Linked DNA regions of Homo sapiens: region 2 is linked to region 1. Evidence: promoter capture Hi-C in 16 types of primary human blood cells and fetal thymus (Javierre and others, 2016). All regions are on one chromosome and are shown on one strand. The core of a region is centred on a gene start or on the middle of the fragment in contact, and the rest is flanking DNA. Distances in the headings are between cores, read along the strand shown.

What was found. The method cuts DNA at HindIII sites, captures the fragments that hold promoters and counts their contacts. A CHiCAGO score of 5 or more calls a contact.
Region 2: a contact is called between a fragment that was not itself captured here and the fragment with the promoter of PSMG3 in region 1, in 5 of 17 cell types (naive CD8 T cells, M0 macrophages, total CD4 T cells and 2 more). The highest score is 7.5, in naive CD8 T cells.

Annotation. Positions count from the first base shown.
Region 1 is chr7:1,568,424-1,573,832 of GRCh38, forward strand. It overlaps PSMG3 (proteasome assembly chaperone 3), which reads right to left and starts at 1,609. Exons shown (of 2, transcript NM_032302.4): 1 at 701-1,609. The coding sequence starts at 916. It overlaps PSMG3-AS1 (PSMG3 antisense RNA 1), which reads left to right and starts at 1,650. Exons shown (of 5, transcript NR_027329.1): 1 at 1,650-1,856. RefSeq lists silencers at 1,281-1,710, 2,151-2,230 and enhancers at 1,339-1,907, 2,531-2,600, 2,611-2,660. The HindIII fragment of the contact is 7,479 bases long and covers 1-5,409 here.
Region 2 is chr7:2,305,331-2,311,084 of GRCh38, forward strand. All of the region lies in intron 1 of SNX8 (sorting nexin 8), which reads right to left. Among named protein-coding and RNA genes, the nearest start is that of SNX8, 6.2 kb to the right of the region's middle. RefSeq lists enhancers at 2,363-2,662, 4,149-4,658, 4,659-5,169, 5,170-5,678. The HindIII fragment of the contact is 3,363 bases long and covers 2,410-5,754 here.

The DNA of each region.
Region 1 (5,409 bases), core at 359-2,858:
CTCCTCCCTGGGGGTCCCTTCCTGACCACTTTATTATTATTATTATTATTATTATTATTAAAGACAGAGTCTTGCTCTCTCACCCAGGCTGGAGCGCAGTGGCACAATCATGGCTCACTGCAGCCTCAACCTCCAGGGCTCAAGCCATCCTCCCACCTCAGCCTCCCAAGTAGCTGGGAGCACAGGCACACACCACTAGGCCCAGCTAATTTTTTGTTTCCTTTTCTTTTCCTTTTTTTTTTAAGACCAAGTCTCTATCTGTTACCCAGGCTGGAGTGCTGTGGCACGATCTTAGCTCACTGCAACCTCCGCCTCTCGGGTTCAAGCGATTCTTCTGCCTCAGCCTCCTGAGTAGCTGAGATTACAGGCATGTGCCACCACACCCAGCTAATTTTTATATTTTTCGTAGAAATGGGGTTTCCCCATGTTGGCCAGGCTGGTCTGGAACTTCTGACCTTAAGTGATCTGCCCGCCTCAGCCTCCCAAAGTGCTGGGATTACAGGTGTGAGCCACTGCACCCAGCCTCTCTCTATATATATATTTTGTGTAGGCACTTGTTTTTTTGTAGTGACTTGTGTGTGTGTTGTTGTGTTGCCCAGGCTGGTTTCAAACTCCTGGCCTCAAGCGATCTGCCCGCCTAGGCCTCTGAAAGTGCTAGGGTTACAGGCGTGAGCCACAGTTCCCGGCCAATCCACTTTACCTCATCCTGCCCCAGAAGGACTTTTGTGGTGAGCACAGGCTTGCTGACGTCACTGGCCACGCTGCTGGGCTCCAGGGAGACCAGGGTGCCCATCTTCCCAAACTGGGTCACCACCACCAGGATGTGACTGCTGAAGGCCGTACACACCACCTGGGTGGGGACCCCGCACACCACCTCCGTCTTCTGCTTCGATATCACCAACGGCGTGTCTTCCATGGCGGGGCTCTGCAGTGGCAGCTTTAATTTAGGTTAAAAAGAAAGGGGAAAAAAAGGAGTCAATCAAACAGTACAGCCTTGGGGCTCCCAAAAAAGTAGCACGGGGCATTGAAACGGAAACGCAAGGAGGCCCATTCAAAAGAAGGGGCCAGGCGCGGTGGCTCATGCCTGTCATCCCGGCACTTTGGGAGGCCGAGACAGGACGATCGTTGAGGCCAGGAATTCGAGACCAGCCTGGCCAACATAGCGAGACCCCCATCTCTACCAAAAAAAAAAAAAAAAAAAACCAGCAGGGCGCGCCTGTGGTCCCAGTTACTCAGGAGGCTGAGGCGGGAAGATCGCTTCAGCCCGGGAGGTCGAGGCTGCGGTGAGCCGTGATCACACCATTGCATTACAACCCGGGCGGTAGAGCGAGACCCTGTCCGTAAAAAAATAAAACAGAAGCAGGAGCGGGGCCGCCCATAGAGACCGCGCCTGGGGCTTTCTGGGTTAGGGGATCGACTTGCACGTTCACACTGCCAGGCCGGGCAGTGGCTTCCCGCCCCTCGGCCTCGCCGCCGCCCCGGCCCTGCAGCCGCGGCCCGGGACCCCCACGACACGCGGTGCCGAGGCCGGCCGGGCTACTGGGGACGCAGCCGCCCGGGGAAGCCCGCGGGTACCCGCGCTCACCAAGCCGGCGCCGCGCCCGGAAGTGGCTCTGCGTGCGCCACGCGGGCCCGCCCCGTCCGCGGGTTCCGTCCACCTTCCGGAAGTCAGGGCCGCGGCGCTTCTGGTCCCGGAGACTTGGGGCTCCCGGGCTTCTGAGCGGCTCGGGTTCCGCGCTGCCGGCAGGGCTTGGGGGCGCCTTAGAGCCGAACCCCGTTTTTTCAGGAAAGGGCGCTGCGACCACCCCCGTCCCGGGCCTCAGCCCCTCTGCTGCAGACCCTCGGGATCGTCGCTGGTAGGAGCTCTGTCCCCCGTGTCTGTGTCCAGGACCCCCGAAGCGCCGCGCCTAGGAACCCCCTAGCGCTGGGAGCCCGGCCCTGCTCGACCACGGGCTTTGGGCTGGAGGCGTCATCGTCGCCACAGCGAACGCTTATTTGGCACCGAGTGTCCGCCAGGCATCGCTCTAAGCGCTTTATACCCATAACTCACTTCATCTCAGCCACCCGGTTCCGTAGAAGCGTTTCATCCGCGTTTTACAGACGTGTGCAGGTGCAGAGAGCTCGGCCAGGCTCAGGCGGCGGGCGGGCTGGGGTGGGCTCCGACCGTCCCTCGGGCGCTCCGTGACACGAAGCCCCGGCCAAGGCCAAGAAGGGGGCCAGCCCCACCCTGAAGCGGGATGAGTTCTGGTTCCTCCCAGGGACCCCCTCACTCCCTACTGCTCACTCTCAGTTTCTCCAAGCTGGAAGGTTTTTTGTTTTGTTTTGTTTGAGACGGAGTCTTGCTGTGTCACCCAGGCTGGAGTGCAGTGGCGCGATCTCGGCTCACTGCAGCCTCCGCCTCCCTGGTTCAAGCAATTCTCCTGCCTCAGCCTCCTGTGTAGCTGGGATTACAGGCGTGCGCCACCAGGCCCGGCTAACTTTTTAAATTTTTAGTAGAGATGGGGTTTCACCATGTCGGTCAGGCTGGTCTTGAACTCCTGACCTCAGGTGATCTGCCTTCCTCGGCCTCCCAAAGTGCTGGGATTACAGGCGTGAGCCACCGCGCCCCGCTGCTGGAAGTTTTATTGGTAGGGTCGGACATCTTGGTAGCAGAGGCTGAAAGTGATTGGAGCCTCCAGAGCCTTCCTCGGGGTGGGGCGTTTAACATCCCTTCAGAACCCCACCCTCGGAGGCCTTACTGTCGTTTCCTGACAACCATGTCAAGGCCGTATTTTCTGTCTATATTACCAGAAAGGGGTCCCGATCCAGACCCCAAGAGAGAATTGAGGGCGAGTCCACAAAGTGAAAGCAAGTTTATTAGAAAAGTAAAGGAATTGAGGCAGGAAAACAGGGTCTGGAGGCAGGGAACACTTCAGCTATGACAGGAAATACCCTCTCCATAGGGTGTACACTGAGTAAATGATTTTGTAACTTTATTTCATCCTCTTTATTTACATAGGGCGTACACCAAGTAACCAGTAGAAACCCCTAGAGGGTATTTAAACCTCACAAGTTCTGTAATGGGGCCCTGAGCCTCTATGCTTTGGCCGCCCCCACACCATGGAATGTACTTTCATTTTCAAAAAATTTCTGCTTTTGTTGCTTCATTCTTTTTTTGCTTTGTGCATTTTTTTTTTTTTGAGACAGAGTCTCTGTTGTCCATGCTGGAGTGCAGTGGCGTGATCCTCACTGCAACCTCTGCCTCCCGGGTTCAAGCAATTCTCCTGCCTCAGCCTCCTGAGTAGCTGAGATTACAGACGTGCGTCACCATGCCCGGCTAACTTTTGTGTTTTTAGTAGAGACGAGGTTTCGCCATGTTGGCCAGGCTGGTCTTGAACTCCTGACCTCAGGTGATCTGCCCGCCTCGGCCTCCCAAAGTGCTGGGATTATAGGTGTGAGCCACCGCGCCCGGTGGCTTTGTGCATTTTGTCCAATTCTTTGTTCAAGATGCCAAGAACCTGGACACCCTCCACCAGTAACAGAATAAAGAATGGCTACTCCATAGGCAGAGCAGCATGGGCTGCTGGTTGCCCATTTTTGTGGTTATTTCTTGATGATATGCTAAACAAGGGGTGGATTATTCGTGCCTTACCTTTTTAAACCCTTTAGGGTAACGTCCTGGCATTGCTATGGCATTTGTAAACTTACGGCGCTGGTGGGAGTGTAGCAGCTGGGACGACCAGAGGTCACACTCATCGCCATGTTGGTTTGGTGGGTTTTGGTCAGCTTCTTTACTGCAAACTGTTTTATCAGTAAGGTCTTTATGACCTGTAGCTTGTGCCGACCTCTTATCTCATCCTGTGACATAGAATGCCTTAACTGTCTGGGAATGCAGCCCAGCAGATCTCAGCCTCATTTTACCCAGCCCCTATTCAAGATGAAGTTGCTCTGGTTCAAACACCTCTGACATTTACACCACTGAAGCTCCAAGGAAGATCTTGACTCCCTCTTCTCACCATTTGATGACTTCGTATCCAATCCAAGTCAAGTCAAATGAAGCATGCTCCTTCCAATGATGATTTCTGGAGGCCTAAAATAAAAAGCATGCATACAGAAAATGATCAAAATAGACATAAATCAAGGGGAAATTCATTTTTGAGCATTCTTGCAGCCAGTACACAAAAGGAGAGATGATGAGTTTCATGGTTCTAATACTCAAAAAACAGGAAGCATATCAACTTCCCAGGAAAGTCTAAGTTTCTGTCGGCTCTAAATTTAAACACACATCCACCCACACATACCCCACAAGCAAATTGCCAGTGGATTGCTTTGCCATCTGAAATCTTCAAAAGGTTCACTCGCTTTTATTCACCTGTTTGTGTATTCTCCCTCTCTGTAGGCAAATAGATACAAGAAATCTGATCCTGTCCTCTCAAAGAAAACCCTCTGAAATAAACTTATCACCTTTAAAAAAGGGATGTTGAAGAACAAGATGGATTTTTGTTGTTGTTGTCGTTTTTTGAGATGGAGTCTCGCTCTTGTCGTCCAGGCCGGAATGCGGTGGTGCGATCTCGGCTCACTGCAACCTCCGCCTCCCAGGTTTAAGCGATTCCCCTACCTCAGCCTCATGAGTAGCTAGGATTATAGGCACCTGCCACCACGCCCGGCTAATTTTTGTATTTTTAGTAGAGACTGGGTTTCGCCATGTTGGCCAGGCTGGTCTCAATCTCCTGACCTCAGGTGATCTGCCCGCCTCGGCCTCCCAAAGTGCTGGGATTACAGACGTGAGCACCCAGCCTGGATGTTGTTTTTGATGACACTGCTAAGCACTTATGTGAGGGATTGTTTGGGTGGTTTGGGTCTAGATCTAAGATAAAGACAGTAGGAAAGAAATGAGAGGTGGAAGGTTGTCCTAGGCTGAGGTGGTGGTCCAGGGACTTTCTGGCAGCCTGGATGGATGCCTGGGCAGAATTTATATATCTAGAAGAATGGAAGAGGACCTCATTGCATGCCATTGACTGTTCTCCAGTACCCAAGGGTAAAGGAACTGGAAAGAAAGACTCACTCAAGTGCATTCACATAAAATGGGAATCTAATAGTAATGGTGCCAATTGTGGGGCAAAGAGTTCAAGGAGTTATTTTGAAAAATGAAAAAAAAAGCAAAGTATCTTAAATTTGTCTTATATTCAATAAATTGTCGGTGATAATGCTATGGTGTGTGCATTTGTAGAACCAACAAAGACTTAGTCAAGTGCCGATTTGGTAGGATTGTAATTTTTCCGACAAATTGTATGATCGCTACACACGTTATCCTTCCCATTGTGTGTGATTTTCCCAGCTCCAGGATGAAGAGGATTGGTTTTACAAAAATGGGCAAGGACACCATCAATTTCCCCACAAGTCTCTCTCTCTCTCTTTTTTTTTTTTTTT
Region 2 (5,754 bases), core at 2,841-5,340, 740 kb after region 1:
ACCTCAGGTTTTCCCCCAACATTTTGTATTTTTGTTTGTTTGTTTGTTTTTGAGATAAAGTCTTGCTCTGTTGCCCAGGCTTGAGTGCAGTGGTGCAATCTCAGCTCACTGCAACCTCTGCCTCCTGGGTTCAAGTGATTCTCCTGTCTCAGCCTCCCAAGTAGCTGGGATTACAGGCACCCGCCACCACACCTGGCTAATGTTTATACTTTTATTAGAGAGGAGGTTTCACCATGTTGGTCATGCTGGTCTCGAACTCCTGACCTCAGGTGATCCGCCTGCCTCGGCCTCCCTAAGTGCTGGGATTACAGGCGTGAGCCACCATGCCCGGCCTGTATTGTATTATTTTGTATTATTAAATACTTTACACATGCACAGAAAGGACTATAAAACTTCTATGAACACTCGAACAAAATTATTTACCAAACACGTGTAACCACCATCCAGGCCAAGAATTAAAGACAGCCAGACTAGGCACGGTGGCTCACACCAGTAATCCCAGCACTTTGGGAGGCCGAAGCAGGAGAACTGCTTGAGCCCAGGAGTTCAAGAACAGCCTCAGCAACGTAGTGAGTCCCTGTCTCTACAAAATAAAAAATAAAGACAGCGGCACCCTGGAAACGCTCCTTCTGGTTGCATCCCTGACAGATCTGGGTGCCTTCTTCCCGCCAGAGGGAACTACCAGCCTAATTGGTACGGCATCTTCCTCGATTTTCATTCAGTCTTATCCCTTATCAGGCTCTGTAGGGTCTCCCAAAGCATTGGGATTACAGGCATGAGCCACTGTGCCCAACCCGGGACAAGTCATTTTTTTGTTTGTTTTTTGTTTTTGAGACAGTCTTGTTCTGTCGCCCAGGCTGGAGTGCAGTGGCGCGATCTCAGCTCACTGCAACCTCGAGCAATTCTCCTTCCTCAGGCTCCCGAGTAGCTGGGATTACAGGCGCATGCCACCAAGCCTGGCTAATTTTTGTATTTTTTTTTAGTAGAGACGGGGTTTCACCATGTTGGCCAGGCTGTAATCCAGCCACCTCAGCCTCCCAAAGTGCTGGGATTACAGGCGTGAGCCACCGTGCCCAGCCTCCGGGACAAATTTTAATATGGATTCCATTTAACAAATCATTTTCTGGAAAACATGTGGCAAGAATATCTCTAACTGAAATTTTTTTTAACTGAAATTTTATCATATTAGCACTTTCGAAGCACAACTTTATATTCCTTAATGCACTATTATACAGACACTAGGTAGAAAATTACGAAAACTAGCAGTGTAGAAAAATGTCAAGTGAAAGGAACTAACTATAAAGACGCATATTCACTATGATGATAACTACATACAAAGCAATGCACAGGAAAAAAGGAAATATATTAAAATGCAACGGCTGTTAAAAGGGGTGGAACTACAGGTGATTTGTCTATGAAATTTTTGCGATTGTGGTTGTATCACTTGTATAACAAAATTTTCTGAAAGCACCAATTCACACAACAACAGCGCATTACTGGGTCTGATGACAACTCACTCATCAGGCTCCTGGTGGACACCCGCACAAATCAGGTTTTGGAAGATTCCTGGAAAATAACGTAACTGGGCTTCTTGAAAGATATTACCTAACCTGAGTTTCTCCGGCCCCTACAGTACTTCCTGGGGTTAATCAAACTTTGTGTAATTTCACTTCAGATTTCCATAACACACAAACTTCAAAATGCTTATAGGGAGCTAAAAAGACCCCCATTAAACCCCTGCTACACACAACAGAAACAGCAAAGTGCCTCCTCCCACCCAGTCAACAGAAAACAGCAGGAAGGGCAGACCAGATCCTCCCGGAGCTGAACACACACCCCTCCTCAGTCCTCCCAAAAGGGACCCTACCTGATATTTTAATGCCAATATTTTCCCAAAAACACTTCTCACAAAGCACTTCTGCCCTTTAAGTCTGGTTATGTGATTTTTTTTTTTTTGGTGATTCTATAGTAGAAATATGCAGAGCGTGGCCGCGCTCCAGTTTCTCAGAGGATGACAATGGACCAGGTGCAGTGGCTCACGCCTGTAATCCCAGCACTTTGGGAAGCCAAGGCGGGGGGATCACTGAGGTTCCAAGTTCGAGACCAGCCTGGCCAACATGGTGAAACCCCATCTCTACTAAAAATACAAAAATTAGCCAGGTGCGGTGGTGGACACGTGTAATCCCAGCTACTCGGGAGGCTGAGGCAGAAGACTCGCTTGAACCCGGGAGGCGGAGGGTGCAGTGTGCCGAGATCGCACCATTGCACTCCAGCCTGGGCAACAAGAGCAAAAACTTTGTCTCCAAAAAAAAAAAAAAAAAAAAAAAAGGTGACAGTGACAATGCTGGAGACCGACAGCCAGGCTCTCCATGCACTCTCGGGCTCTGTGCCTCCTACCTGCAGCCTCCAAGCTTCTAATCACCGCATGGCTCCTCTCAGACACAGCAGGTCCTGTGAAACCACCCACGTCCAGCCAGCACCACCATCACCCCCGGTCTCTTCCCACTACCCCAGCAAACAGGATGGGCAAACATCTCTTTTTGTGATGCTTTTCTCAGGAAAGACAAAATAATACCAAAACAGAATTCCCCTACCCGGAACACATCACTTTCTTGCTAACCACAAATTCTGGCAAAATCTGTTCTACATAACAGTGATTCAGTTAGTTCCTCTTTCTTCAAATTGACACGTTTTACCTTGCAAATTGTGTATGTGTGCGTGTGTGTGTGTGTGAGAGAGAGACAGAGAGAGAGAGAGGATGAGCAAGTTTAAAGACCAGTAACAAAACATATTTGCAGTGTTGTCAAGTCTTATCACATAAGAAATATAATACAAAAATTTATAAAAATGTAATTCTATTCAAATATTTGAGACTCTGCTACATAGCAGATAGTATTCTAGATACTGTGGTTAAAGAAAAATAGGTTTCTGTTTTCTGGAGAGAGCCAGAATTAAAAAAAGAAAAAAGTAACAAAACTATATAAACAAAATAAACTTGTAAAAAAAATAAAAATAAGTTTGCTCATCAGGAGTTTACTACCAAAATATGTGTCATGGCCAGTCACGGTGGCTCACACCTGTAATCCCAGCACTTTGGGAGGCTGCAGCGGGCGGATCACCTGAAGTCAGGAGTTCGAGACCAGCCTGGTCAACATGGTAAAACCCCGACTCTACTAAAAATACAAAAATTAGCTGGGCATGGTGGCACACGCCTGTAATCCCAACTACGGGGGAGACTGAGGCAGGAGTCACTTGAACCTAGGAGATGGAGGTTGCAGTGAGGCTAGATGGCACCACTGCACTCCAGCCTGGGCAACAGAGTGAGACTCTGTCTCAAAAAAAAAAAAAAAAAAAAAAGGGTCATGGAAGGGAGCGAAATGGGGCAGAAGGTTTTGTCCCTAATGCAAACAATACTGTGGGGCATAATTTAATCACCATAAAATGAACAAATTTTTTTTTTTTTTTTTTTTTGAGCTGGAGTCTTGTTCTGTCAACCAGGCTGCAGCGCGGCACCATCTCGGCTCACTACAACCTCTACAACCTCTGCCTCCCAGGTTAACGCAATTCTCCCACCTCAGCCTCCCGAGTAGCTGGGATTACAGGCACTCGCCATTATGCCCAGCTAATTATTGGATTTTTGTACAGACGGGGTTTCACCATGTTGGCCAGGCTGGTCTTGAATTCCTGACCTCAGGTGATCCGCCCACCTCGGCCTCCCAAAGTGCTGGGATTACAGGCGTGAACCACCAGGCCCAGACACAAATCTTTTTTTTAAATAGGGATGGGGTCTCACTCTATTGCCCAGGCTGGCCTCAAACTCCTGGCCTGAAGTGATCCTCCTGCCTTAACCTCCCAAAGTGTTAGGATTACAGGTGTGAGCCACCACACCCTGCTCAAAATGTATAAATAGGCCCAGTGGGGTGGATCACCCCTGTAATCCCAGCACTTTGGGAGGCCAAAGCAAGTGGATCACATGAGGTCAGGAGTTTGAGATCATCCTTCCTGGCCAACATGGCGAAACTTCGTCTCTACTAAAAATACAAAAATTAGCCAGGTGTGGTGGCACACGCCTGTAATCCCAGCTACTGGGGAGGCTGAGGCACAAGAATCACCAGAACCAGCCGGGCGCGGTGGCTCACGCCTGTAATCCCAGTGCTTTGGGAGGCCAAGGTGGGCAGATCACCTGAGGTTGGGAGTTCGAGACCAGCCTGACCAACATGGAGAAACCCCGTCTCTACTGAAAATACAAAATTAGCCAGGTGTGGTGACGCATGCCTGTAATCCCAGCTACTCAGGAGGCTGAGGCAAGAGAATTGCTTGAACCCGGGAGGAGGAGGTTGCGGTGAGCCGAGATCGCGCCATCGCACTCCAGCCTGGACAACAAGAGCGAGACTCCATCTCAAAAAAAAAAAAGTATAAACTTTAAGTGACAGCGCAATGAATTCTGACCAACGTATTCACACAGAGAACAGACCTGACATGAGCGAGCAGCTGCAGGTAAGGGTTGATGGGAGCCCAGGGTGCATGGAAGTCGCCCAGGCAAGAGGGGAAGGCTCGGGGCAGGGGTGAAGGAGCCCCGAGGGTCAGCAAAGGCCCTGGACCTGCCTCAATGACACTCAAGGAGTCATCGCCAGGTCAACGCGGACAAACAGCACGGAGCTTCCGAACCGAATGGAATGTATGGAATGCCATGGGATGAGCCGCAAGTGAAGCGTGACTCACCCTCGTTCTAAAGAGTCAATGTAGGGCCGCAGGACTGTATACGGCAGAGCCAGGATACGCCGTGGTCATCTGTACATATTTCTATCCATGTATTAATCGATCCCGAGAAATCAGGCTGGACGACCAAGCACACTTACCACACTCACTGCCGTTCTCGCTGGATGTCACAATCATTGAGCTTCATGACCTAAGAACAGGCCCTGAAAAAAACCCTTATCCTGCATAGTCAGAGGACAGAATGTTCCGGTCAATCAGATATTTTGACAGGAATAGTTTCAATATAAAATCCAGCCAGGCTCGGTGCCTCATGCCTGAAATCCCAGCACTTTGGGAGGCCCGGGTGGGAGGATTGCTTGAGGCCAGGAGTTCCACACCAGCCTGGGCAACACAGCCAGACTGTCTCTACAAAAAATTTTAAAAATTGGCCAGGCGTGGCTGGGCGCAGTGGTTCACCCCTGTAATCTCAGCACTTTGGTAGGCCGAGGCAGGCAGATCATGAGGTCAGGAGATCAAGACCAACCTGGCTAACACGGTGAAATGCCATCTCTACTAAAAATACAAAAAATTAGTCAGGTGTGGTGGCAGGCACCTGTAGTCCCAGCTACTCAGGAGGCTGAGGCAGAAAGAAGAATGGCGTCAACCCAGGAGGTGGAGCTTGCAGTGAGCCAAGATCGCACCACTGCACTCCAGCCTGGGCAAAAGAGTGAAACTACGTCTCAAAAAAATAAATAAATAAAAATAAAAGGAACAAAAGAAAGCTAGAGAATATACTACGCTAGGGAAACATGAGCACACTTATATAAGGAAGTATATGTTTCCTGAGTACATATATGAATAAAATGTGAAAACAGAACTAAAACGGTCCATCCCAAACTGAGAACAATGGTCACCTCTCAGGTACAGACAGGAGATGATGGCAATTAGGATGGGACTTTCACTTAATCTACAATGTTCTATTCTTTTTTAAAGAAAATACATTTGTCCATGTATGGCATAACTGAAAATTAAGTTTTTATAAAGAGGGTTGCCCTA